7 separate regions of the Homo sapiens genome follow, and regions 1, 2, 3, 4, 5 and 7 are each linked to region 6. Evidence: promoter capture Hi-C in 16 types of primary human blood cells and fetal thymus (Javierre and others, 2016). All regions are on one chromosome and are shown on one strand. The core of a region is centred on a gene start or on the middle of the fragment in contact, and the rest is flanking DNA. Distances in the headings are between cores, read along the strand shown. Region 1 overlaps RUSC2 (RUN and SH3 domain containing 2). Region 2 overlaps RUSC2 (RUN and SH3 domain containing 2). Region 3 has its middle 37 kb from the start of RUSC2. Region 4 holds the start of RUSC2 (RUN and SH3 domain containing 2). Region 5 holds the start of TESK1 (testis associated actin remodelling kinase 1). Region 6 holds the start of UNC13B (unc-13 homolog B). Region 7 has its middle 55 kb from the start of RUSC2.

What was found. Contacts are between HindIII fragments. The CHiCAGO score rates a contact against its expected background, and 5 or more counts as called.
Region 1: a fragment that was not itself captured here is called in contact with the fragment with the promoter of UNC13B in region 6 in 1 of 17 cell types (M2 macrophages); the score reaches 7.4 in M2 macrophages.
Region 2: a contact is called between a fragment that was not itself captured here and the fragment with the promoter of UNC13B in region 6, in 3 of 17 cell types (monocytes, endothelial precursors and megakaryocytes). The highest score is 7.2, in monocytes.
Region 3: a fragment that was not itself captured here is called in contact with the fragment with the promoter of UNC13B in region 6 in 3 of 17 cell types (M2 macrophages, M0 macrophages and M1 macrophages); the score reaches 6.7 in M2 macrophages.
Region 4: a contact is called between the fragment with the promoter of RUSC2 here and the fragment with the promoter of UNC13B in region 6, in 2 of 17 cell types (megakaryocytes and endothelial precursors). The highest score is 5.5, in megakaryocytes.
Region 5: a fragment that was not itself captured here is called in contact with the fragment with the promoter of UNC13B in region 6 in 2 of 17 cell types (endothelial precursors and erythroblasts); the score reaches 6.1 in endothelial precursors.
Region 7: a contact is called between a fragment that was not itself captured here and the fragment with the promoter of UNC13B in region 6, in 1 of 17 cell types (M2 macrophages). The highest score is 5.4, in M2 macrophages.

Annotation. Positions count from the first base shown.
Region 1 is chr9:35,532,933-35,536,866 of GRCh38, reverse strand. The region is part of intron 1 of RUSC2 (RUN and SH3 domain containing 2); the gene reads right to left. Among named protein-coding and RNA genes, the nearest start is that of CIMIP2B, 29 kb to the left of the region's middle. The HindIII fragment of the contact is 1,185 bases long and covers 1,750-2,934 here.
Region 2 is chr9:35,553,524-35,557,216 of GRCh38, reverse strand. It overlaps RUSC2 (RUN and SH3 domain containing 2), which reads right to left. Exons shown (of 12, transcript NM_014806.5): 3 at 1,516-2,157; 4 at 1,080-1,265; 5 at 769-909. Among named protein-coding and RNA genes, the nearest start is that of CIMIP2B, 8.5 kb to the left of the region's middle. The HindIII fragment of the contact is 1,113 bases long and covers 1,616-2,728 here.
Region 3 is chr9:35,451,183-35,454,989 of GRCh38, reverse strand. It overlaps the pseudogene ATP8B5P. Among named protein-coding and RNA genes, the nearest start is that of RUSC2, 37 kb to the left of the region's middle. The HindIII fragment of the contact is 224 bases long and covers 2,183-2,406 here.
Region 4 is chr9:35,487,980-35,491,837 of GRCh38, reverse strand. RUSC2 (RUN and SH3 domain containing 2) reads right to left here and starts at 1,727. Exons shown (of 12, transcript NM_014806.5): 1 at 1,666-1,727. LOC105376026 (a long non-coding RNA gene) reads left to right here and starts at 211. Exons shown (of 2, transcript XR_929580.4): 1 at 211-407; 2 at 582-719. RefSeq lists a silencer at 1,759-2,058. The HindIII fragment of the contact is 5,552 bases long and covers 1-2,517 here.
Region 5 is chr9:35,602,928-35,606,606 of GRCh38, reverse strand. TESK1 (testis associated actin remodelling kinase 1) reads right to left here and starts at 1,345. Exons shown (of 10, transcript NM_006285.3): 1 at 769-1,345; 2 at 502-623; 3 at 322-370. The coding sequence starts at 987. RefSeq lists silencers at 480-739, 521-815, 750-919, 940-1,239, 1,270-1,519 and an enhancer at 2,000-2,109. The HindIII fragment of the contact is 1,139 bases long and covers 1,552-2,690 here.
Region 6 is chr9:35,160,460-35,164,103 of GRCh38, reverse strand. It overlaps UNC13B (unc-13 homolog B), which reads right to left and starts at 2,095. Exons shown (of 40, transcript NM_001371189.2): 1 at 1,799-2,095. The coding sequence starts at 1,820. RefSeq lists a silencer at 2,100-2,229. The HindIII fragment of the contact is 6,795 bases long and covers 1,021-3,644 here.
Region 7 is chr9:35,433,668-35,437,213 of GRCh38, reverse strand. It overlaps the pseudogene ATP8B5P. Among named protein-coding and RNA genes, the nearest start is that of RUSC2, 55 kb to the left of the region's middle. The HindIII fragment of the contact is 3,873 bases long and covers 1-3,546 here.

The sequences.
Region 1 (3,934 bases), core at 1,093-3,592, 370 kb before region 6:
TTGGCTTTAGAGGTCATCCATCTCGGCTGTCTATTCTTTTTTTTTTTTTTTTTTTTTTGAGTTTCACTCTTGTCATCCAGGCTGGAGTGCAGTGGCGCGATCTTGGCTCACTGCAACCTCTGTCTCCCAGGATCAAGTGATTCTCCTGTCTCAGCCTCCCGAGTAGCTGGGATTACAGGCACCTGCCACCATGCCCCGGCTAAGTTTTTTACTTTTAGAAGAGACGGGGTTTTGCCATGTTGGCCAGGCTTGTTTTGAACTCCTGACCTCAGGTGATCCACCCGCCTCAGCCTCCCAAAGTGCTGGGATTACAGGTGTGAGCCACCGTGCCCAGCCTTGGCTGTCTACTCTACTCCACTCAACCTTGCCTTCCCATCATGCAGTCCTTGAAACATGTTTCAGAAACTCATTTCCACTCTGTTGTATTTGTTCATTCAGACTCTCCTTCCTGTTACACTTGGCCCTGTTCAAAATTATCCAAACCTACCAGACCCAGAGCAACTCCTCCATCAAGTCTTCTCTGATTACCCCAGAGCCAGAAATAATCTGTTCTCCGAACCAGTGGTTGCAGGTTGTTGATTTTACAGACAAGAAAACAACTTCCACAAAAAACGGGGATCAATATTGGATTGCCAACTTCTTATATTGTCAAGTAGGATCATTACAAAAAACTTTACTTTGATGATCATCATTTTATAAGAAAAAGCATACTGTACTTTCTCATTGCATTGCATATTGATGGCAAACTTCATCAGCAATAGCATCGGTCCCTGAGAAGTTTTGATTAAGTAAATCATGTCACTTAACATGGTTATTGTTCTTTTTTGCATATCTGCCTTAACATCTCTTCTAGACTGCAAAGTCGGAGTTATAGTCATCTGTACATCTCCATTATCCAGTATATAAGAATATCATTTTAATTTTGTATTTCCCATAAAACCTAGCATACTGCTTGGCATATAGAAGGTGTCTTATGCTTGGCATATGGAAGTCTTGTTGAACAAGAATAATCTAAAAAGAGATGCTTGGCCGGGCACGGTGGCTCATGCCTGTAATCCCAGCACTTTGAGAGGCCGAGGCGGGCAGATCACGAGGTCAGGAGATTGAGACCATCCTGGCTAACACAGTGAAACTCCGTCTCTACTAAAAATACAAAAAAAATTAGCCGGGCGTGGTGGTGGACGCCTGGAGTCCCAGCTACTCAGCAAGCTGAGGCAGGAGAATGGCGTGAACCCAGGAGGCAGAGCTTGCAGTGAGCCAAGATGGCGCCACTGCACTCCAGCCTGGGCTACAGAGCAAGAGACTCCGTCTCAAAAAAAAAAAAAAAAAAAAGAGAAGCTCCTTGTGTGTAAATCAGAATAAGTGGTGGGTAGACTTGACTCAATAGGCTTGAAAGAGAAGACTGTTTTCCATGTGAAAAAAAAAAAAATCTATCAAAAAGAAGCTTAGGCGGCCGGGAGCGGTGGCTAATGCCTGTAATCCTAGCACTTTGGGGGGCCGAAGCGGGCAGATCACCTGAGGTCAGGAGTTCAAGACCAGCCTGGCCAACATGGTGAAACCTTGTCTCTACTAAAAATACAAAAATTAGCGGGGTGTGGTGGTGGGCACCTGTAACCCCAGCTATTCGGGAGGCTGAGGCAGGAGAATCACTTGAACTCAGGAGGTGGAGGTTTCAGTGAGCCGAGATTGCACCATTGCACTCCAGACTGAGCAACAGGAGTGACACTCCATATCTAAAAAAAAGAAGCTTAGGCAACAAAGAAGTAATTCTTCATAACCTAGGGTTAGGCAACACATTCTTAGACATGATATCAAAAATACAAGTGACAAAAGAAAAAAACAGAAAAACTTTGACTTCCTGCTGGCAAAATGAAAAAATAAAAAAAAAAACATAAACTGACTTCATAAAAATTTAAAACTTTTGTTCTTCAAAGGACACAATCAAGATAGTCAAAAGAAAACCCACAGAATGTGAGAAAATTTGCAGATCATATATCTGATAAGGGATTTCTATCCAGAATATATTTAAAAACACTTACAACTCAGTAATAAAAAGACAATCCAATTTTTAAATGGGCAAAGGGGGCCAGGCATGGTGGCTCACACCTGTAATCCCAGAGCTTTGGGAGGCCAAGGCAGGCAGATCACTTCAGGTCAGGAGTTCGAGACCAGCCTGGCCAACATGGCAAAACCTGTCTCTACCAAAAAAATACAAAAATTAGCTGGGTGTGATGGTGCACACCTGTAATCCCAGCTACTCGGGAGGCTAAGGCACAAGAGGTGCTTGAACCTGGGAGGCAGAGGTTGCAGTGAGCTGAGATCGCACCCCTGCACTCCAGCCTGGGTGACAGAGTGAGAACCTGTCTCAAAAAAATAAATAAGTAAATAAATAAAAACGAGCAAAGGATTGTGTGTGTGTGTGTGTGTGTGTGTGTGTGTGTGTGTGTATTATTTGTAGAGATGGGGGTCTCACTCTGTTGCCCAGGCTGGTCCAAAACTCCTGAGCTCAAGTGATCCTCCTGCTTCGGCTTCCCAAAGTGCTGGGATTACAGGCATGAGCCACCATGCCTGGCTGGGCAAAGGATTTGAATAAACATTTCCCCAAAGAAGACACACAAATGGTCAACAAGTACTTATATAAACAAATGCTTAACATCATTAATCATTAGGCAGTACAAATCAAAACTAAAGTGAGATACTACTTGACCCCACTAGAATGGCTAAAATAAAAAAAGGCAGGCAATCACACATGTTGACAATGATGTGTAGAAATTGGAACCCTCACACATTGCTGAGGGCACTGTAAAATGGTGCAACCACTTTGGAAAAGAGTTCTGGCAGTTTCTCAAAAAGTTAAAGAGTTACTATTTGACCCCAGCAATTCTGCTTCTAGGTATATACCTACGAGAAACAAAAAACATCCACACAGAAGCTTGTATATGAGTATTCCTAGTAGCATTATTCATGATAGTCAAAAACTAGGAGCAACCAAAATGTTCATCAACAGAAGAAGGGATAAATAAAAGGTGGTACACACAATGAATTATTATTGAGCAATAAAAGGGAATGAAGTCCTGATAAATGCTCCAACATGGATGAACCTTGAAAACATGCTAGGTGAAAGAAGAAACACAGAAGGTCACATATTGTTTCATTCCATTTACATGATATGTCCAGACAAGGCAAATCTATAGAGACAAAAAGTAGATCAGTGGCTGCCAGAGGCTGGAGAGGCAGAGAGATGGGGAGTGCCTGCTAATGGGTGTGGGGTTTCTTTTGGGAATGATGAAATGTTCCAAAATTAGACTACAGTCATAGTTGCACAACTGTGAATATACTAAAACAATTGAATTGTATACTTTAAATGGCAAAATGTATGGTATGTCAATTATATTTCAATAAAGCTGTTAAAAACAGTGGCAGTTGCTGTAGGAGCTTGAGTGGTGTTGCTCAGCTCCACAGAGACTGAAGTCTTTGAGAACCCCATAACTGGGGGTATGGGTGAGAGGTGGAATATCAGGGTACCAGAAAGCAGAGGCTATCACTGCATGTCAATCCAAGGACGTCAGATAGTCCTCTCTTTCTTTTTTCAACACCAAATTCTTCTTTTTTTTTTTTTTGAGACAGAGTCTCGCTCTGTCACCCAGGCTGGAGTGCAGTGGCACGATCTCGGCTCACTGCAACCTCCGCCTCCTGGGTTCAAGCGATTCTCGTGCCTCAGCCTCTCGAGTAGCTGGGATTACAGGCATGCGCCACTATGCTTGGCTAATTTTTGTATTTTTTAGTAGAGATGGGGTTTCGCCATGTTGCCCAGGCTGGTCTCGAACTCCTGAGCTTAAGTGATCTGCTCGCCTAGGCCTCCCAAAGTGCTAGGATTACAGGCGTGAGCCACCACACCCAGCCTCGACACCAAAATTCCTTAACAAATGGACTC
Region 2 (3,693 bases), core at 923-3,422, 390 kb before region 6:
TCAGCCCACAATTATGCTCAGTTCTCTCCATCTCCCTAAAAATGTTCTTAGTTCAGTGGTCACTTATTTGCTAAATAGTGTGGGTCTTGTCAATCTTCATCTTACTAGATGTCACCAACACTCTTACCCAAGCTGCTGGGCCCTCTAGTACCTTCACCCGCCCCCTCCAAGAGCACTGAGGCATTTTTTGATGACATGGAAGCCTCCTCATGAGACTTTGCTCACTGCAGGAAGGGACCGGAGCGTGACTCTGAAAGCCTCTGATGAATGACCCTTGCTCACTCACATGCACTCATGATACACAGCACACAGCTTCCTCCTCTGGCCCCAGAGCCTGTGTGCTCCAACACCTTCCCAGCACCTGGAGATTTGTTTGTGGTTTTCTTTTGAAAAGGAGTTTTCAGTTTTGTTGCCCAGGCTGGAGTGCAATGGTGTGATCTTGGCTCACTGCAACCTCCACCTCCTGGGTTCAAGTAATTCTCCTGCCTCAGCCTCCCGAGTAGCTGGGATTACACGCGCCCACCACAACACCCAGCTAATTTTTTTTTGTGTTTTTAGTAGAGATGGGGTTTCACCATGTTGGCCAGGCTGGCCTCGAACTCCTGACCTCATGATCCACCTGCCTTGGCCTCCCAAAGTGCTGGGATTACAGGCGTGAGCCACTGGGCCCAGCCAGCACTTAGAGGTTTCAGACTGGCTAGGTAGTAGGGCAAGTGTGAGGAGGTAGTGACAGCAGAGTCCCTGGCCTGAGCTGGGGGTTGTATGCACCTTTTTTCTGAAGCAGGTCAATGGAAATGGCCTCTGAGCTGCCATCTGGGGACAGACAAAACTCAGCTGGAGGCTTCTCCGTCAAGGAAAAGGGGTCCTGGAAGTCAGGGCAGGTCAGTGGTAACGGCTTCACTGCTTGGCCTGGAAAGAAGAGAAAAATCAATCCTGAGCAACTCTCAGTGCAGGAGTTCCAGGCCAGTTCAGTGCCTCGTACCGTCTGAGACACGTTCCTTTGGGACTGACCCCTTCTCTAGCCCTTTCCAGCCATGGCAGAGCCTGCCCCGGGTGTACTGGGGACCCTGCTCACACACCATTCAGCCGGCAGTTCAGATGGCTGGCAGCACTGAGGGAGCCAGGGAACTCAAAGATAGGGTTTCTTCGGGCCAGCCGAGCTTCTTGTGATCTTCGGTCTAGGCTCCCTGACAAACCAGGTGGCCCTAGTGGGTTCTTCCTCCTGTATTCCCGCCACTTGAGGGCTTGAGGGGATAGGTGGTTGGCTGGAAGCAGAACAGATTAGCAGAAAGACAAGAGTTGGCAGGAGACAGCGAGACAGAGTTTCACATCCACCCAGTGGGCCCATATGAAACACTAGATTATCTGTGGATATTATCTACAGATGCTGAGGGAGGGATGCAGACATCCTAACCTCTGGCCCCAGGTGAGAGTGTAAGCAACCACTCAAAGGGGAGGTGGTGGAAGTGCTTGCGTGAGGTGGCGGGTTGGGTAGGGAGATGCTGGAGCTCGTACCATTACTGGGCCTGGTGGCCATGCTGCCCTCACCACCTCCCCGGGCCAGGCTCTCTGCTCGGCTGAGGCCAGATCGCCAGGAGCCCAGAGGCGGCAAGCTTCCTGTTCCATGGAGCCGGTACTCAGTCAAGGTCAGTATCTTCTGATCCTCCTTCTGCGGCTGCTGGGAGGTGGCAGGCCGGACAGCAGAAGGACAGGAGTGGCTCCATGGGGGCAGGCTTTCTGTGGCTGTGGGCTGCTCTGGGGGAGGGGAGCACGAAGTGGAGGCAGAAGAGTCAGTGCTGGGCCCAAAGGGGCCAACACTCCGGATGGGGGAGTAGCTGCCCAGGGGCGATGGCCGAGAGGTCTCTGGCTCAGACCCAGCTTTCCTGGCACCTCTGCCAGTGGCTCGGGGAGTGGATGCCTGCGGTTCCCCTGAGGGAGCTGGGACTGAGACTTGAGCAGCAGGGGCAGCCAGTGGGGCAGGCTGCTGTGTACGGCTGCAGCCTGAGAGGCTGTAGAGCTGGGAAAGGCTGTGGAGGGCCCGGGCCTTGGCCAGCTGCTTGGGGAAGTGGTGCTGGAACACGAAGGGCTGGATGGGCAGTGTGGTTGGCCTCTGTTCCTTGCTGTAGCGAAGGACTGGTCGGCTCTCGGTGCCACCCCCTGTAGCAAAGGGATGGAGAAGAAATCAGTAGACAGACACTGAAACCCATATGAGAGAAAACCCAGAAGCAGAGATGGGAGAGGGGAGAGGGGCAGGGACCTGGCTGGCAGGAATTGAATGGGGTAGAAGTTCGTGGAATGGGACACTGCTCCCCTCTTTTGTAAAACGCTTCCTATTGCTTTTATGGTGCTGGACTGTCTTGTACCTCTCTGCTGTTCAGTCCCTCTTCATTTTCTTGACTCCAAAGGTGAGTGTATCTTAAGGCTCAACTCTTGCATCTCACCTTACACTTTATTTCTTGAGAAGTTTTGAGTTCAGACTTCTACGGGATGACTCCCAAACCCACAGCTTTAGCCTGGACCTTCCTCTTCATCTCCAGATCATTCTGCTTTATAGTTCTGCTTTCACTTAAAATGTGCTATAACCGCTTATCCATCACCTTTCTCCTTTTTTCCGATGACTTCCATTTCTATCAATGGCAGAACCATTTTCTTTGTTTCTAAGTCTTGGAGTCACAGTCACACACATTTTCAGTGATGAAAATGTTTCAGATGTTACTGACTTCAAGCTTTTGCTCATTATCCCATCTCCAATCATGCCAGCACATTTCATTCCTGAGCATATCGAACCATAGTAAGATATTTCTTTACTTGCAGCCTACCTGTTATCTGTATCTACCCCCACTCCCACTCTTTTCACGATCCTGGCATTGGAACCTCAGAGTCCACATTTGCTCCCCCTGAACGGAGGTATGTTCCCCAAGGCTGGGCCTCTCCTGTTCTTTCAGGCAGTCTTCAGGTCAATGTCCTTCAAAACGTGGTGCTCAGAACTAAACACAAAACTCCAGGACACTGGAGTGGGACAGTGGATGGACTGCACTTCCAACAAAACACTGTAGATCTCCGAATAAACGTAAGATGGCGCTATAAGCACGCACCCGGCCTAAAGCCCTGGTGAAAGCTCACCAGCAGTGGGGCTCAGTAGCTCTGCGAGGCGGGAATTAGTTCTCTTACTTGACATATTAGGAAATGTGAAATGTAGACAGATTAAAGCACTTGCTCAAGGTCAAACAACTAGGAAGTGGCAGAGCTAGAATTCTGCCTAACCCAGAGTCTGATTTCAGAGCCACTGTTCTTTTTACCACATTGTACTACATGTGAAATTGTATCAGGCCAGGTTTTCCTATCCCTCATCTTATTTACATCAAAGAGTCAGAGGGGATGGGGACCACAATCCCATTAGGGAGGTGCTTCTGAATCACTCCCAGGGGACACTTTCAAGCTCCACCCTCCTGCTATACCCAGTCACTGCTTACACAGACTCTGCATTCTCCCTGGCCCACTGTGCTCCAGCCACACTTCCCCGTCCTTAAACACACCAGATGCATGAACATCTCCGGGCCTTTTGCACCTGCTTTTCTTTCTGTCTGAATCTTCTCACCATTCAGGCATCAGCTCAAATATCACCCCCTCAATAAGACCTTCTCTGACTACGTCAGCCCCTCTGGCAAGTTGCTCTCTATCCCATTACCCTGT
Region 3 (3,807 bases), core at 1,045-3,544, 290 kb before region 6:
TTCTCCTGCCTCAGCCTCCCAAATAGCTGGTACTACAGGCACCCGCCACCAAGCCCAGCTAATTTTTTGTATTTTTAGTAGAGACGGGGTTTCACCATGTTAGCCAGGATGGGCTCGAGCTCTTGACCTCGTGATCTGCCCACTTCGGCCTCCCAAAGTGCTGGGATTACAAGCGTGAGCCACTGCACCTGGCCAGATTTGCCCTTTTAAGGTTATTTTCTAGACCTTGTATGAATGCTTCATTTTTTTTTCTTTTGTCTTCTCTGGGTATCTTCAAATAGCCTGTCTTCAAGCTCACTAATTCTTTCTTCTGCTTGATCAATTCTGCTATTAAAATACTCTGATGCATTCTTCAATATGTCAATTATATTTTTCAACTCTAGAATTTCTGTTTAATTCTTTTTAACTATTTCAGCCTCTTTGTTAAATTTATGTGATATAATTCTGAATTCCTTCCTGTTATCTTGAATTTCTTTGCGTTTCTTCAAAACAGCTATTTTGAATTATCTGTCTGAAAGGTGACATATCTCAGTTTCTCCATGATTGGTCCCTGGTGCCTTATTTAGTTTGTTTGGTGAGGTCATGTTTTCCTGAATGGTCTTGATGCTTATGGATGTTTGTTGGTGTCTGGGCATTGAAGAGTTAGTTATTAATTGTTTGTATAGTCTTTGCAGCCTGGGCTTCTTTTTACCTATCTTTCTTGGGAAGGCTTTACAGGTATGTGAAAGGACTTGGGTGTTGTGATCTAAGCCATATCTGCATTAGAGGGCACCCAGAGCCCAATAATGCTGCAGTTCTTGCAGACTCATAGAAGTATCACCTTGGTGGTCTTGAATAAATCTGGAAGAATTCTCTGGATTACCAGGCAGAAACTCTTGTTCTCTTTCCTTTCTCCCTAACAGATTTAGTCTATCTCTGTGCCAAGCCACCTAGAGCTGTGTGTGGGGTGACACAAGCAACTCTGAGGCTACCACCACTGGGACTGTGCTGAGTCACACCTGAAGTCAGCACAGCACTGGGTCTCATCCAAGGCCCGCTGTGACCACTACCTGGCAACTGCCTATGTTCACTTCAAGCCCCAGGGTTCCACAATCAGCAGATGGTGAAGCCAGCCAGGCTTATGTCCTTTCCTTTAGTGCAGCAAATTTCCTCAGCCCCTGGGGTGTCCGGAGATGCAGCCTGGGAGCCAGGGACTGAAGTCAAAAACCTTAGAAGTCTACCTGGTACTGTATTCTACTATGGCTGAGCTGACCCTTAAACCATAAGACAAAGTCCTTCCCACTCTTCCCTCCCATTTCCACAGGCAAAGGAGCCAGTGCCCATGGCCACCATCAAAGACCTATAGAGGGTACTGCCAGGCTACCACCAATGTTCACTTAAGGCCCAAGGGCTTAATCAGCTTGTGTTGAATACTGTCAGTCATGGGACTCACCCTTCAGGGAAGTGGGCTCCCATCTGGCTCAAGGCAGGTCCAGAAATGCCATCCAAGAGCCAAGGCTGGAATCAGGGGCACCAAGGACCCACGTGATGTTCTACCCCACTGTGGCTGAGTTGGTACCTAAGCTGTAAGACAAAGTCCTTTTTACCTTTCCCTCTGTTTTTCTCAAACAGAAGTCTCTCACCATAGCCACCACGGCTGGGAATGTGCTGGGTCTCACCTGAAGCCAGCACGTCTAGATGCTGCCACTCTACAGTCTCACCTAAGGCTCACAATGTACTACCTGGGTATCGTTGCTGGTTCTTTAGGGCCCAAGGGCTCTTTAGTCAGCAGGTGATGAACCTGCCAGGACTGGGTCCTTCCTTTGAAGGCAGCAGGTTTCCTTCTGGTCCAGGGTGTATCTAGATATGCTGTCTGGGAGCTAGGGCCTAGAATGGGGGCCTCGTGACTCTGTCCACTGCCCTATGGTACTGTGGCTGACCTGGTCTCCAATTTGCAAGACAAAGGCCTCTTTACTCTTCCATCTCCTCATGCAGAAGAAAGGAGTCACTTTTGTTACTGCAAGCTGTGCTGCCTGGGGTTGTGGGAGGGGTAGCATTAGCACTCCCTTCTCTGCTCTGGCTGGTGTTTCACTAGGTTGTGTGCACCCACCCCGACCCCCTATGTCCACTGGCTCTGAGCTCAGTACAGCACTAGGGCTTGCCTAGGAATGGCAGTCTTTGTGGCCTAGACTGCTTTCAAGCTTGTTTAGGACCCCAGAGCACTTTAGCCCAAGGTGGTGAGGCTTGACGAAACTGAAGTTCTGACTGCTGGGATGGGCGATTCCCTTCTGGCTAGGGTTGGTCTAAATGCTCCCTCTATGGGTGGGTGTCAGCAGAGTTCAGCTTGGTTTTGCTTTCCACTATGACAGAACAGCACTGAGTTCAATGCAGGGTTCCACAATTGCTGTGCTCTCCCTCCCCAAAGCTTACAAGTTCTCTGCACCATGCATGGCCACCAGGAGATGGGGGAATGGTGGCATCAGCAATTCAAGATTGTCTTCAATGCTTCTTTTGGTGATATGATGTTAAAACCAGGTATTGTGATTGTTCGACTCATTTTTGTTTCTTATGAAGGTACTTTTATATGTGGATAGTTGTTAAATTTGGTGTTTTTGTGGGAGTGTGTGTGGGGGGGGTGATTAATAAAGACTTCTATTCAGCCATCTTGTTCCACCTGTGTTTTTGTGTTTCGTTGTTGTTTTTTATAGAGATGGGGTCTCACTGTTTCCCAGGCTGCTCTCAAACTTCCAGGCTTGAACAATCCTCCTGCCTCGGCCTCCCAACCTGCTGGGATTACAGGTGTGTGCCATCACACCCATTTGAAGACATCCTGTTTTGAAGACAAGCCTAGGCTAAATGACCTAGCTTACTGTCTAATGATGTATGTTGCTAATGTTGTCAAAAGCATATTTGCCCATGTTACCTTCCTTAATTCTTGACCATGATTGTCTTCTTCATTAAGAAACTAGGAAATGGAACTTTGATCAACTGCTGAAAACTACTTACTCCATAATAGAAAGAGAAGTATAATGAACGAATACTAGATTCTGAGCTGAATGAACCTTCCTAATTTTCTAAAACCCCTTTTGCTAGATCCAAAGGATTTTGAAAAGGATCTGGGATGTTTCCCATAATAAAGAAAAAAGGCAGTTTATAATTCAGATATTAATGATAAGAGTGTACAAAGAAAAGGTTTTTTTTTGAGTTTTCAGAGTCTAAATAATAGAGTAAAAATAAACATGAAAAGTTATGAGATCAAGTGTAGGCATTACAGGAACTGCTCAGCTATGCAAAGAAGCTGTTTAAGAGAGGAAATTAATCTGTCTATAACTAATAAGAATAAAGGCAGCTTATATCAGACAGCATAGAAATAATTTATTAACTAGTCTTCAATTTAAACATCTATTATCAAAGCTGATTATTATATATTGCAGTGCTTTTCAAATTTCACTTCTTAATAGAACCCCCTTCTATTTTTACAACTGAAATTTCATAAAATAGATAAACATGAAGCTGTTCTTTTTAAAGCAAGAACTTCAAAATGAGGAGGATAGAATAAAATCCACTTGATCTTCCCTATTCCCACTGCACCAGACCTTAAGACTCCTCTAAGAAAAGAGTTTGAAAATCATCAGTTCAAACAAGGTGTTCTATTAGTCTAAGTAAGGTTTTATTAAAGTGGTCATGAGTAAAACTGATTATGAGAAAATAAAAATATGTCTTAATTTCTAAACTGGGTCCTTGATCCATTCTTGTACCACTAATCAAAGCATGATATCTTTTTAAACACTTTGTGACTATTCTTCCTAACAGGCGTAAGCTAGACTC
Region 4 (3,858 bases), core at 478-2,977, 330 kb before region 6:
TGCTGGGACTACATGTGCACACCACCATGCCCGGTAATTTTTGTATTTTTAGTAGAGATGGGGTTTCACCATGTTGGCCAGGCTGATCTTGAACTTCTGACCTCTAGTGATCCGCCCACCTGGGCCTCCCAAAGTGCCGGGATTACAGGCTGAGCCACTGTGCCTGGCCTGATCCAAGACTTTATAAAGACATGTAAGAGGGTGGGAGACAGAAAGCGGAAAAGGATACATCAAAACTAGCAATGGATGAATGAGAACATGTCCAGCCTCCAGTTAAGGCAACTGTGGCTTCAAAAAGGAATCTTAAATACCAGCACAGAAATCAGAGGGATCCTAACCTGGCTCAAAACAGAAGAGAAACAGTGGCTGGCCATACAGCAGGACGGGCATAACTAACAGAATACCAGGTATACTGTTTGGATCTGCTCTTCCTTCCATTAAGCCATCCACCACTGCTTAATATCTAAGGAGCCGGCTAAGAAAATCCAGTCACTACTTTTATTTGCTAATACTTTGAGCCCCAGTTACAATAATGCCACTACTAATTAGGTAACTACTTTCTACCTTATCAACTCCTACAGCTTTCCAGCCATTGTTTCATCCCTCAGCGATACCACCTGCTTCCGCGTGGAACCCAAACCCCCAGGAAACTAAATCTGCTCAGGTCACCCACCTAGGAATAAATAAAAACAGGTTTCAGGCCCTTTGTCCTTTGTAAATTCCGCCTTTTTTTTTTTTTTAAGGCCTGTGTTCTTTATCACGGACACTGTTCACATAGTGGTAATCCTTGCCTGACTCAGATCTACTTGTTCCTGCGTTTCATTCCTCCGCTGCTCAATTACTTGTTCAAAACGCAAAGGACAACTGGTAGTGAAGACCCTCCACCAGCAACACTACCATGTGCCAGGCACCGTGCTGGGGACCGGGGATACAAAGATGAGTAGTGTACCGTCCTTGCCCCCAGGACAGTTCCCCGTGTCCGCAGGGCCGGCCTGGAGGGCCACAGCCAACTGTGGGCAACAGGATCACCGTGCCCTTCGCGGCAAGTGAGTGCAGTAGTAGGGGACGGTTACTGCCAAGCCAAAGGTTTTCTCCAGGTAAAACTGGATGACAGAGAGACAGAGACTGAAGCAACGCCGGCGCCGGGCGGATAATAAAGGGAGGCAGGGGCTAAAAGGGTGGAGGGAGCAGAGGACCCGGCCGGGAACTGGCAGTAGGGAGGCCCCCGCTGCAGTCGCCGGCCTGGGTGCCGGGCGGCCACGCTTCCCCAAAGCCGTCACAGGGACTTGGGGTACCAAGGTGACTACTGGGCGCGAGTCGTTTTGTGGGGGGAGGGTGTCCCCAAGGGGGCAGTTTGAGGAGACGGTTGGGGATGCATCTGGGGTGGCGCCCAAAGGGACGGTGGGTGCTGGGTGTTTGAAGGTCCGGTGGACGCAGAGCTGAAGGGTCAGGAGAAGGCCAAGGGTCAGAAGGGCTGGGGACGAGGTCTGCCCAGGGGGTCGGGGCGGACGCAGAGGGCGGGTGCAGCCGAGGGGGAAGGGCTGAAGGGAAGGGCAGGCGCTGAAGGCACATAGGTGGGAAGACAGGCCCTCCCCTAAGGGAGACCTTGGAACGCGGGGCAGTGGGTCTGTGGGACCCTGCCCGCCTCCGGAGAGGCGTTCCTACCTCGTTTCTCGCCTCAGCCTCGTCCTTCCGCGCCGGCGGCGGCGGCGGCGGCGGCGTGTCTCGCCCTCCAGGGGTCGCGTTGCAGGCTAGAGGCGCCGGCGGCCCCTCCCTCCGGGCGGGTTGGAAAGGCCGGCCCCTGTCGGCGTGGCGCGATGGTCCGATCTGGGTTGCCCTCAGGCCGCCCCTCCGGGCGGCGCGTTGGTTCGGTCCGCCCGGCCTAAGGTGCTCGCCCCCTCCCCGGCTCCCGCAGCGATGGGCGCAGCCGAGTCACGCGCAGAGCTTTCCCGCTAAGGGAGCGGAGAGGCTTCCGCCGTGGCCCAATCTTCTGCGGCCCGCGCCCGCCCCCGCGGGGTGGTGCCTGGCGACGCGCGGCTCCCGGGTGCTGGAACCCAGGGAAACCTTCCGCGGGCCTCCAGGGCCGGTGGGTGTGAGTCCCAGCTTCGCCTGAGGCGGCGGTTCTCAACGCTGGCTTCCCAGTAGAACCTAGTGTGGAAACTAACCAAACAACAGAAGGAGGGCTGACCTCACACTGGACCGACTCAGAACCACTGGGGTGGAGTGGGGTGGGGTGAGGTGGGGTTGGCCTCCAGTGCATAGCCAGGGTTCGGAACCCCTGATGAAACGTAGAACCCATGCGCCCCCTGCCCTTCAGGGCCGGATGTGTGGGGGACATGGAAGATGCCTGTGTGTGACTCCTGCTGTTTACAGCCAGAGGGGGATGGGGCAGGCAGTCCTGCAAATGTTATGGGAAACCCACTGTATTAGTCCGTTCTGACACTGCTATGAAGAAATACTATGAAGGAAAGAGGTCTGACTCACAGTTCCGCATTGTTGGCGAGGCCTCAGGAAGCTTATAATCATGGCAAAAGGCAAAGAAGTAGCCATCCTTTTCGCAGGGTGGCAGGACAGAGTGAGTGCAGGCAAGGGAAATGCCAGACGCTTATAAAATCATCAGATCTTGTGGGACTCACTCACTGTCACGAGAAGGGCGCAGGGGAAACCAGCCCCATCATCCAATTACCTCCACCTGTTCCCGCCCTTGACACAGGGGGATTATGGGAATTACAATTCAAGATGAGATTTTGGGTGGGGACACAGCCAAACTGTTACAGGTAGTTAGGCATGAGCGGGGCAGGAGAGGGTTCTCCCCTGCTACCCACTAGGGATGTTGGGTGATGGTTCTGAGGCAGGAGAATAGGGACTGGAGGCAGGGAACCTAAGACTGGTTCATGCCAACTTCCTGGAACTAAATTGAAAGGAAAACCCTAACTTTCCACACCTAAGTAACAAACCCCCCACCCAACTTTTCTGCCCAGCAGATGGGAAATTGGCTATCTGCAACCAATTAGACTGACTGCAGCCGAGTCTAACTTTGCATAGAAGTATAACTTTGTAACTTCACCCTAGCCTCTGATTGGTTGCTTCTTGCAACCAATCAGATGTTTGCACAGGTGTGCGACCTTTGTAACTTCACTTCAGCCTCTGCTTGGCTGCTTTCTGCAACCAATCAGACTGATTGCAGGCTACGAATTCATTTACATGAGGTGAGCATGAAGTGGCGGGTAACTTCTAGGGGGTATTTGGACCCAAGAAGATTCTGTTTCCTGGCCCTTGAGCCGCTGCTCCGGCTGCTCCCACACTGTGGAGTGTGCTTTCGTTTTCAATACATCCCTGCTTTCCTTCTTTTGTTCCTTCATTCTTTCTTTGCTTTGCTGGGCGTTTTGTCCAATTCTTTGTTCAAAACGCCAAGAACCTGGACAACTTGCAGTCAGACCCTCTACCAGTGACAGTTCCATAATTACCTCATTGCTTCTTTAAAAAGGATAATTCGGCTGGGCCAGGGAGAGGCCATTTCCTGATGGTCCACACATGTTAACATCAAAATGCTAATTGAATGCAGGCCTCAGGGAGAAGCAACTTTCTGGGCATGCGTGTTAAGAGACAAAAATGGTGACGTATGATCTCCTGGGGGCACCCTCCACCGGAAAACGGGAAGGAAAGCACTGCGCATTCGGGAAGCCCACTCTAAGGGAAGAATCATGGGAAAGAGGCCAGCCTGTAAAAGTCCTAGGATCTTGGTTAGGCACTTGACCTTCTCTCTTTAACCTTCACGTGCCCGCTTGGGTTTCTTCCAAGCGCACCTTCCTTTCTTTCCTGTTCTAAGGCCTTTTTAAATAAACTTCCATTCCTACT
Region 5 (3,679 bases), core at 872-3,371, 440 kb before region 6:
AAAAAATAATCTAAACAATGAAAATAATTTAAATTTAACCACATGTGGCTAGTGGCTACTGTATTGGACAGCACAGATAGAGAACATTTCCGTCACTGAAGAAAATTCTATTGGACAGCACTGTTCTAGGGGATACAGAGAATAAGACCAGTTGAGGCCTTTTATATGTGGTTTGCCTAAAGGAAAGTTCAGGAAAGCCTCCCCTGAGAGGAGATCCTGTTGCCTCTCACTAGTCCTCCGTAGATCCACCAGGCCTGTTGACTCCCTTTATCCTTGGGGGTGAAGGGGGGTGGGGATCCCTCCTTCCTGGCCTATCCTCACCTCTGTAAGAGCGTGCAGCTGTCCCTGGTGCACACAGACTCCCATGAACCTGCAAGAGGATGGGGAAGATAGAAGGATAGGCTATTAAAGGCCTCAGCTCCTCCTCAGTTCCACTTTTCCCGCGGGATCTTTCCCTTTCTCTCCCGCCCAGCAAGCTGCCCAGAGACTGGGGCCGCTCACCTTAGGATGTTGGGGTGCCTGAGCCGGTTCATCAGCTGCACTTCCCGTAGTGTGTTGCCCCGGTTACTGGGGAGCTTGTTCATCTTCAGCACCATGACTTGCCCTGACTGTCGGTGCCGAACCTGGGGGCAGGAGCAGCCGGCGAGGGCCGGGCAGGTCGGGCGGGTCGCCGGAGTCTGGACCCTCTTCCCCGCACTCCCGGCCCCCTAGTTTCAGCCTCTGGTTGAAGGCTCGGTCCCGCCCCTCTGCCCTCTCGGCCGGTCCTACCTTGTAGACCTCAGAGAAGAAGCCGGCCCCGATCTTCTCCGCGCAGTGAAAATCGTCCACACGCGCCAGGCTAGACACGGCGCTGCGGAGAGCCCGGTAGGAGGAGGGGCGGCCCCGGCCCGGGCCTCCGCCCGTGCCCCCCGGCCCCGGGGGCCCCTCCCCCGGCACCTCTCCAGGCCCGGGCCCAGGGCCCCGCAGTGGGGGCCGTTCCCCGGCCATGGCCGGGCCCCCAGCCCGGGCCTGCCTCACATGGCAGGGTCCCCAGGGCCCGGGCAGGCCGCGCTTGCCATGGGCGCGGGCCCAGCCCGATCCCGGGCGCCCGGACTCCGGCTCCCGCCCTGAGAATGGAAGATCCGCCGAAGATCCTGGACCCGCCCCCGCCGCGCCGGCTGGCTGGGCCCGGGTGGACGCCGCGCCGCTCCGCTCCGCGCAGGGCCTGGGCTTGGGCCTGGACCGGGCGGTGGCGGTGACGGTGGCGGCAGCGCTCCGGGGCGCCGGCGGGCTGGCTTGCCGCGGGCGGAGGCGGGCGGGCGGGCGGGCGGCGGCTGCTCCGCTTAGCCGCCGGGGATCAGGCTCCGCGGCCTGCCGGGGGCGGGGCTGGGCCGGGCCTCCGCTTAACTCCTTCCAGCCCGGCCTCCCGGCAGCGGCCACGCCCCCTCAGGTGCGCACCCCCGCCTCCCCGCTTTCCGGCCGCGATGCCCTGGGCCGCCCGGGTCAAATAAGCTCCGGCCTGAGCTTGAATAACGGGAGGGAATTAAGGGCTGATGGTGCGCATGCGAAGCTTAGCTGCCCAGGGAGTCCCCTCTCCTCCCTGGGTTACTGTCCGTTGAGGGTCGGGCTCAGAAACCTGCCGGATTCCTGGGCTCCAGGGACCAACGGGGCAGAAAGGTAGGCCCCTCAGGCCCAGCCGCAATCAGAGGTAGCCTAGCAACCTGTCCACCTTCCTGGCCTGCGCCCCGGCCCAGCCTGCCCATTTCCCAGGTCTCTTCGACTCCGACACCTTGAACCTCTGGCCTCCCTAACACCTTCTACCTTCACGGGAGGTTGTGATACCCCGGGGCTATAGGAAGCCTTTGGCCGGCCCATACCCAGCTTAGCCCCGACTCCTCCTCACTTCATCCTGCCGCCTCCCAATAAAGAAGAGAGTCCAGGTCCTCCGCCCTGTGACCACCCAGCCGGGACCTCCCTCTTACTACTTTGCCCAAAAGACTCTAAGAGAGAAGCCTCCACCTGCAGGGAAGCCCGTCCTTCCGCAAGATCCCACCCCCCTCAAAGAACGCTGTCCCTCGGAGACCCCTCCCTTCCTCAGTGAGACACCTCCCTTTCGGGGGCACTTTTCCCCAGTGTGGCACTGCCACCGTCAGTGTGTCAGAACCCCTCAGTGCTGCACCCCCTTGCTCTGTGTTCCTCCCACGCAGTGAGACCCCACCTCCGAGGAAATCCACTAGTCATTGTGACCCCTCCTCTCAAGGTGACTCCTCCCCTCAGTGTGACCCAGCCCTCCTCAGTGTGAGGGTTCCGCCCTCCACGTAGGAACACGGTCTGCCCCCTAAGGCCGGAGGAGGGGCTGCAACTGGCCTCTTTAAGTCGGCGCGGTGCCTGGGTGCGCACGCAGTCTCAGGACTCCGTGCACTCGCCGTACCAGACGCTTCCGGTTCTGCCGCTGGTTCCTCCTCCGGCCTCGGCGAAATAGCCAATCATCGCTAGGGTTGGGTGGTGACACGCGATCCCGGCGGTCCACTCCGGGGCAAACGGTTTAAAAGGGCGTCGTTGAGCCGCCTGCCACCTAGCGGCGGAACGGTGGGCGGAGGGAGAGAAAGCTGCCGTCTCGAGTGCGGAGGCAGGCTGAGAGCTCCTCGAGGAAGCGAGGCTGAGTCCTGCAGGAATTCTCAAGTACTGTATTGATATTTCTGTAGTAAGCTTAAAAGAGAATTAATACAAGCACAGTCCGTATCGCGTGGGGTTACCGTCTTCCAATGGAGTCTGGTTACACGTTTATGAGACTTGGAGCCAAGAAATACTACTCGCTTGTCGAGGGCTACTGAGAAAAGAATAAAGACGGTCATAAATGATACATGATGCCTTAGAGTCAAGAGAAGGCCAGATGCTGTCTTGGTGCGCTGTACAAGGGAAGGTATTGCACAAGTTTGGAGCGAGAGGAATGGGAGACATTCGCAATCCTTCCACAGCCGGTGGAGGCAGGCCAACCTCACAGAATTGCACGGGGCACGTGCATCCTGTTCTTTTTTCTGGAGGCGTTTGGTCTTCAGCACACGCTCATTCATCACATTAATGTTAACATCTACAACTAATTTGTGAATTTGCTTTTTATTGTATGACATCTGTAAACACTAGGAATTTATGCCTCATTTTGTTTAATATCATAGATCTTTTAACCGACACTGGGTTCTGGCCCTTTATCACGTTTGAGAATTACTGTAGTAGTTGGTGATGGTAATGCCAAGCCAAAGAGCCAGGTGCCTATTTTTTGTAAGATGATTGCGGTGGTTGTATGGAGGCCGGGAGACTGATTAGGAAGGAGGCTGTGACTGTGGTTCAATCAGGAAAGGATGAGACCAGCCTGGCCAACGTAGTGAAACCCCGTCTCTACTAAAAATACAAAAAAATTAGCCTGATGTGGCGAGCGCCTGTAATTCCAGCTACTCTGGAATCTGAGGCAGGTGAATCGCTTGAACCCGGGAGGCGGAGGTTGCAGTGAGCCAAGATCGCGCCATTACACTCCTGTCTAGGCGACAAGAGCGGGACTCTGTCTCAAAAAAACCTTTTGTTGTTGTTTGTATGGTGGAAAATGTCTTAACACACACACACAGAATAGAAAAATGAATGTTTATTTACCTTGGATTAGTAAGACCATTTTGTTGGAAACCCATAGTGCAAAATTGGCTTTCCT
Region 6 (3,644 bases), core at 846-3,345:
TGGAGGTTGCAGTGAGCCAAGATCGCAGCACTGCACTCCAGCCTGGGTGACAGAATGAGACTCTGTCTCAAAAAAAGAAAAAGAAATAAAAATAAAGATGTATTTCAATTCATTTCTGTAAGTTTTCCCAAAATGAATACTTTGCCATTCAATATGAATATCTGCATATAAGGTACCTGTTTGTTTCAGTATTTAAAATCTTCTAGATCTCTATTCAAAAAGACAATGGCCTGCTGATCTCGTTTCTCCAGATTCAAAAAAGAAGAAACTTCACTAAAGTAACATTAAAAAGGAAAGAAGTTAGCTAAATAGCAGAATTTCTAGACAATGAAACCTGCCTGCTATTAAAACAAATGAAAACACCAGTAGTTATATAAATTCAGTTAAATAGGAATTTCTGATTCACGAGTGCTCCTGCCTAAAGAGTCTTTCATAAGGACCAGCTCTGTAATACAGTGTGGCCGTAGAGAATTAAACTGTCCAAGAGACACAGCAAAGTCCAACCTCTCCCAAATCCTGCTACTCAGCAGCAGGGATCTAAAGGAATAAATAGATTCCCAGCTGCTGAGAGAAAATGTCTTACTAAAAGCAAAGCAAAATTCTCATTAATGAAAAATCAACCATGAAAGAAGAAAAACTGTATATCTCATAATCCCGGGAAATGGCCAAATCCATTTTGGTTAATGCAGATTCAACAAAATAGTGGAAGAGAACAGAGCAAAGCAGTTTCATCTGCCAGTAGCTGGGGGAAACATCGTTATTGGAGAAATCACAAACAACAACAATGCTTCTAATCTGTAGAGCCAAAAGAAATATGAACTCTCCAGTAAAAGATATCAGGTAAAGGCTCTAGTTGATAAATGCTCTCTCATTCATAATCAAGACACATCAGATATGATAGGCTGTAACCTGAATTTCCCGAGATCAAATTCAATGGCTAATCCAAACCCTGTGTTTTCCTGATCAGATAATCTCTCTGAAGTCACAGTACTTGCATTCATTCAAAACCAGCATTAAGCTTCTACTACGTCAGACACCAGGAATACAAAAACTAATAAGAAACAGTCTCTACCCACATAGAACTTAGTTCGCGTACCATGCCTCATCTTAAACCCCAAAGCTCTTGCTTTAAGATATCTTCTTAGATGGGTCAAGTGTCCTCAGGGGAAAAGCAATAATGGCCCTTCACCTTGAGTTACTGTGAGGCAAGCTAAAATAAAAATAAAAATAAATCATACCTCTTATCCTCAAAAGCAGTCACCACATCCTCCCAAGTGGAACAGAAGAATAATCTTAGCCTATACTACCGGTTAGTGTTCAGGGAAGTGGCAGGGGACAAGACAAGCAATAGAAGGGATGTGACAGCTGTACCACTAACGCATTCAAAGTGTGATAAAAAGAACCTGCTACTAAGCATACTGTAGCGTTACGGTGCGAGGAGGAGGAAAAGAATGAGAGGCTGCCCACCATTCACAGGCACCAACCATCCGCGGTCTTCTAACTCGTCCACTCTCACTAGAGAACCCCAGTCACTGTTTAATAGGATCTGAGCCTGCAGTCCAACAACATTGTCACATGGCTACCAGAATGGAGAGCTAATCGTCCCTTGCAGGAGCTTGGGGGAAAACAAGAAAGTGGAAAGAACTCAAGTGATTGTTAAGTGATTGCCAAAATAATAGACCCCCAAAGCACGGACGGGATGTAAAGTTTGGGTGAGACGGTCACCGGACGTCCACTGGAAGGGTGCGGGGACCTCTACGCCGACACCCCGCCTCCCCGCCTCAGTCCGCGCACTCACCGCGCACGCAGAGCAGTGACATGGCCGAGGATCGGGCAAGCCTCTGCCGCGCCCCAGCCGCGCCGGACCGCTCCCTCTTTCCTCTCAGCAGGTGCCGCGACTGCTCTCGTTACCGGCCCCACGGGTCTGGCAGCTCCTCATGGTCCCGGTCGCAGGTAGCGTCCCGCCGCTGCCTCGGACCCGCCCCAAATCTCACCGTCTGAGCGAACTCCGGGTAGCGGTGAGTACCGGCCGGCAGGCTGGGGACTGGGCGCGGCACAGCGACGCCATCGCTGGGAGGTAGGAGCTGCCGGGACTCCCTCCCGTCATTCCACCCGGGATCCGCGCGAGCGCCTGGGCGGAGCCAACCCGTGGTGCCCCGCCCCCCAGCCAATTAACTCACGCCCAGTCCACCGACCCCGCCCCCCCCCGCGAGCACGTAGGAGGCGGGGTCCCCTTCCTCCTTTCTTTCTTGCGATCCTGAAGGAAGCTCCGCCCACTAATCAGGCTTACTGCAGGGAGCAAGGGGTTGACCCTCAGTTGTGTGACGCGAGAATGGAAGCCCTCTGTTCCTCCTGCATGAGCGGGGCTTCCACCCAAGAACAGATTCTTTTCATTGAAGGATTTCCACTGGACTTTCTTAGAGTCTAGCGGTCATAGCTGACAGCCTGTAATTTTAAGTTAACGAAGTCGCACCGCACAGCAAAGTTAAGTTTTGTTTAGCAACTAGGGCAAAAGACAAAACTGAGTGGGCATAAAGTATGTCTGGAGACCTCAGTTCTTATCTAGACCGTTTTTTATGCTCATCATTGTATCTCCAATGTCTGGAATAGTGCCTAGTGTATGGTAATCAGTCCGTAAATATTTACTGAATGAAGGATGGTAACCACGGAGGGATTGTGAGTGGAGATACCTCTGATCTTTGACAAATCTCCTATCCATGCTTGGTACCAACATGAGCTAACTCCATGGCTCAAACCAACAGGACAATTTGCTAAGGTCTAGGAGCACCCCCTCCAGAGAATCCCTGATCTCCCAAAATTTGGTCGAGATCTAAAGTTCATTTTGTTGTACAACTCCCTCTATTATTATTATTATTATTATTATTATTATTATTATTTTGGAGTTTTACTTGCTTCCAACAAGGAAGGCAAGTTTTCCTGCTTCCATGACGAGGGAAGGCAGGTAACTCTTTTATGGAGTTTGAGCTCACTTCCAACAGGGAAGATGAGGGGTTTTTTTCCTACTTCTGGGATGGTAGACAGCCGTTTTCAGCCTGAGACGCACCCCTAGGTAAGTAGCTGAATAGGGATTTTTGTCTTGGCTAAAGTTAACAACCAGCTGGTCTTAATTTCTGCTTACCATTAGAGTGCTCAGTGATCATATTGTTGGGTTTTTTTTTATTTTGTTTGTCTTTTTCCCATTGACCAACTCTACTTCACTTGGTCAAATCCAAGTGAGAATTCCAAATTATGGGTAACAAGGCCTATCTAATTTGAGTAAAATTCCTCACAGCTGCAAAAGAAAAAACAAACAGAAAACAAAAAACCATGTATTTGGTTTCTGTGTTTGCTTCCTGGTCTTAAAAATTAAACTGTTCTTAGGCCGGGCGCGGTGGCTCACACCTGTAATCCTAGCACTTTGGGAGGCCGAGGCGGGCGGATCACGAGGTCAGGAGTTCAAGGCCAGCCTGGCCAACATAGTGAAACCCTGTCTCTACTGAAAATACAAAAAAAATTAGCCGGGCATGGTGGCGGGTGCCTGTAATCCCAGCTACTCGGGAGGCTGAGGCAGGAGAATTGCTTGAACCAGGAGGCGCAGGTTGCAGTGAGTGGAGATCGAGCCATTGCACTCCAGCCTGAGCTAC
Region 7 (3,546 bases), core at 516-3,015, 270 kb before region 6:
ATTTAAAGAGTTTTGGCTTATATCTAAGCTACTATTTTGCTCAGTGAAAATGGGAACTTGTCTACTTCCTCAATTCTGATCTCAAGATGTTCACAGGACCATCTTACTTTCTACCTTGGAGTCTTAAATCATTTGTCCTAAGATGTCAGAGCTCAAATCTAAGAGCTCTAAAAGCAGGAGAATAAGACCAAATAATTCCCTAAGTTCAGGGCTCATCTCCTACCTCTTCCATTTAAAAGGACAGAACAAAAGAATAAAAATAACTAATGGATACTAGGCTTAATACCTGGGTGATTAAATAATCTGTACAAAAAATCCCCATGACACAGGCTTACCTATGTAACAAACCTGCACATCCTGCACATGTGCCCCTGAACTTAAATACAAGTTTGTTTGTTTTGTTTTTTTTAAAAGAAGAACCTACCTATTTCCTTAGGGATGAGAAGCTGGTCAAATAGCTTAGCACTTAGGAGTTTAGAGATCCAAGCCAAAACTAAGATTTCCTTGGTGTTCTCTCCATGATTTTCCAAATAATAATCAATCAGACAGTATAGCATTTCTCAAGGCTTGCTCTTTTCACAGCCTTATGCTGGACTATACTAGTGGAGGCTGAAAAATAATTAGACAGGATCCCTTCTGGAGAAGCTCATGGTCTGTCTTGAACGAAGTTCTAGTAAAATGATCTCTACAGGCCCTTCTCATCATGAGAGTATGTAATTCTAACATGGAAATAGCTTTCTTTGATCATAAGATACTTTGAATTTCTCAGTGTTTAAGTCCAGATGGCTGTGATACTTGGACCCAAAGATCTTCTGAGAGGTGGCCTTACTGATGTAGCTAGCCTTCACTGTTGATTTTCCATTTGATTTTATAGCCATTTAATATATTTCAGGTTTCTACTCACGTAGGTAGCATTCTGCCTCAAGATAGAAGTACAGGTATTTATTTATTAACTTGGCAACTAGAGCGTTTCATTTTGCTCTTAAATGTAAAACCAGAAGCAATATCCTAATAACATCTCCTTAACTATGAAGTTCCTCAGAGTTTAGTCCTTTTGGCAGAGGTGATAAAATTTAAACATGATAAGAGGTGGTTAATTTTGGTTTGGTTATTTTTTTCTTTGGGCAGTGATATGGGACTGAAGGTTAATTGGGAAAATAGAAGAGAATAAAAGGCCAAGGATATAATGAGAATCAGTAGTTAGGAGTTAGGAAGATGACAAGGAGTCACAGTGGAAGAAGTTAGAGAAATAGGAAAATGAGCAATGCTCAGGGCCAGGGAAATGAAATGGTGTTAAATATATCAGAATCAGTCAGATCTGTTCATTCACTCATTCAATATTCAATATATATTTATTGAATGTTGGCTGTGTGCACAACATTGTGATAGAAACTGTATCACAAATATACTGTGTATACAGAGATAAATGAGATACCCTTTTTCCAAGGGCTAATAGTTTTTTGGAGAAACAGAACTAACATTTTCAGAACCATACTTAACTCCTACGACCACCATGCAAGGTGAACATTATTATGCCCATTTTACAGATGAAAGAACTGAAGATCAGAGAAGTTAACAAACTTGCCTAAGACATTAAGGTTAGTAAAGGCTGAGCTATATTCAAACTCAGATCTGTCTGATGCCCAAACCTAGATTTACTGTCCCCACTGCTTGTTACGTAGGTCTAGAAGATAGAGAAGAGAAAAACCTGCTTTCATGGTCATATCTTGGATACTATTATTATCCAGAACTATTTGATATGGTTTGGCTCTGTGTCCCCCACCCAAATACCATGTTGAATTGTAACTCCCAGTGTTGGGGAGGGACCTGGTAGGAGGTGACTGAATCATGGAGGCGGCTTTCCCTCATGCTATTCTTGTGTTCTCACAAGATCTGATGATTTAAAAGTATAGGATCCTCCTCACTCTCTCTCTCTTTCCTGCCACCACGTGAAAAAGGTGCTTGCTTCCCCTTTGCCTTCTGCCAGGATTGTAAGTTTCCTGCGGCGTCCCAGTCATGCTTCCAGTTATGCCTGAGGAACTGTGAGTCAATTAAACCTCTTTTCTTCATAAATTACCCAGTCTCAGGTAGTTATTTATAGCAGTGTGAGATTGGACTAATATACCACTCTCACTCAGAAATCATAAACTAATATCCCACAGAGACCGCAGACATATATTTTTATATAATTATAGCTATGTATATGTATACATAGCTACACATGCATGGAATTATATTATGCTACACATGCATGGAATTATATTATGTATAAAACCATTGCTTGTGATCATAGAAGATTGAAAACAACCCAAATGTCCATTTAAAAGGAACTGGTTAAATAAAATATGTTAAATCTGCAGAGGAAATACTATATATTATAGCTGAAAAAGGAAAAAAAAGAAAAAAACTATTATGAAATTATGATGATGAAAACATCTCCAGGATATACTGTTAAGGTTCAGAATAGTGTAAAAATAGGAAAATAAGACTATATATTTGTATTTGCTTTATTTGCACAAAGAAACACTAATCTGATTAATACACACAAGAAAACTAACAGTGGTTCCCTCAGGGGAGCAGATATGGACAAGGATGGAGTATTGGAGCATGCCTTTTCAATATATATCTTTTCATGAATTACTTAGTTATAGACACATAAATAAGTGAAAAATGAACAATTCAATAGGAAGTGGGCAAAGATCATTAATAGGTATTTTCCAGAAAAAGAAATACAAAAGGCTAATTAACATGTATGTCATTTTCATCTAAGAGCTGGCAAAGATGACAAAGATTGATAATAATGAGTTTGACAGGAATGTGGAGAAACGGGCAGTCTCTAAGTAGAAACATAAATGGATATAATTCTTTTGGGGGGCAATCTGGCCTCTGATAATTTTTAATTTTTAGTGTGTTTTTCTTTTGAAACAGACAATTTACTTTTAGGAAACTTTCATAAGATACAGTCACACAAATGTGCCAAAATATATGTATAGTGGTGTTCATTCAGCACCATTTAGCATAGCAAAACACTGGAGACATTTAAATGTTCATCAATAGAAGACTGACTAAATAAATTCAGGTTTATCAATATAATGGAAAACAATGTCGCTATTAAATAAATGAGGGATATCTGTATGTGTTGTCAGATACATGTCTAAGTGAAAAAAGTAGAACTATGCTTTCATTTGTGCAAGAAAAACTACAGTATTTATTTTCTGGGAGTTATATATAAACCTGAAATCTAAGACATTCTCTCCCTAGCTTATGTCACTAGATTAATTTTGGCTTCTGAGCCTTCATTGCATTGTATAGGAGCTTGAAAGAAAGTGTAATAGAATCTGTGTTATAGGATCCACAACTACAAAGAATTTCACGCTCCCCCAACAAAGAAGAATATTATAGGAGAATACTGACCCCCTTCTGAAACAGCCAGAGGGATGACACTCACCGGATATCCAAAAATACTGTTGAATTCTTTGTTGTTGGCTTGCAGATATCTCTCATGTTCTGAAAAAAGATAGGATAAACGATGAGATGGATGCCCCT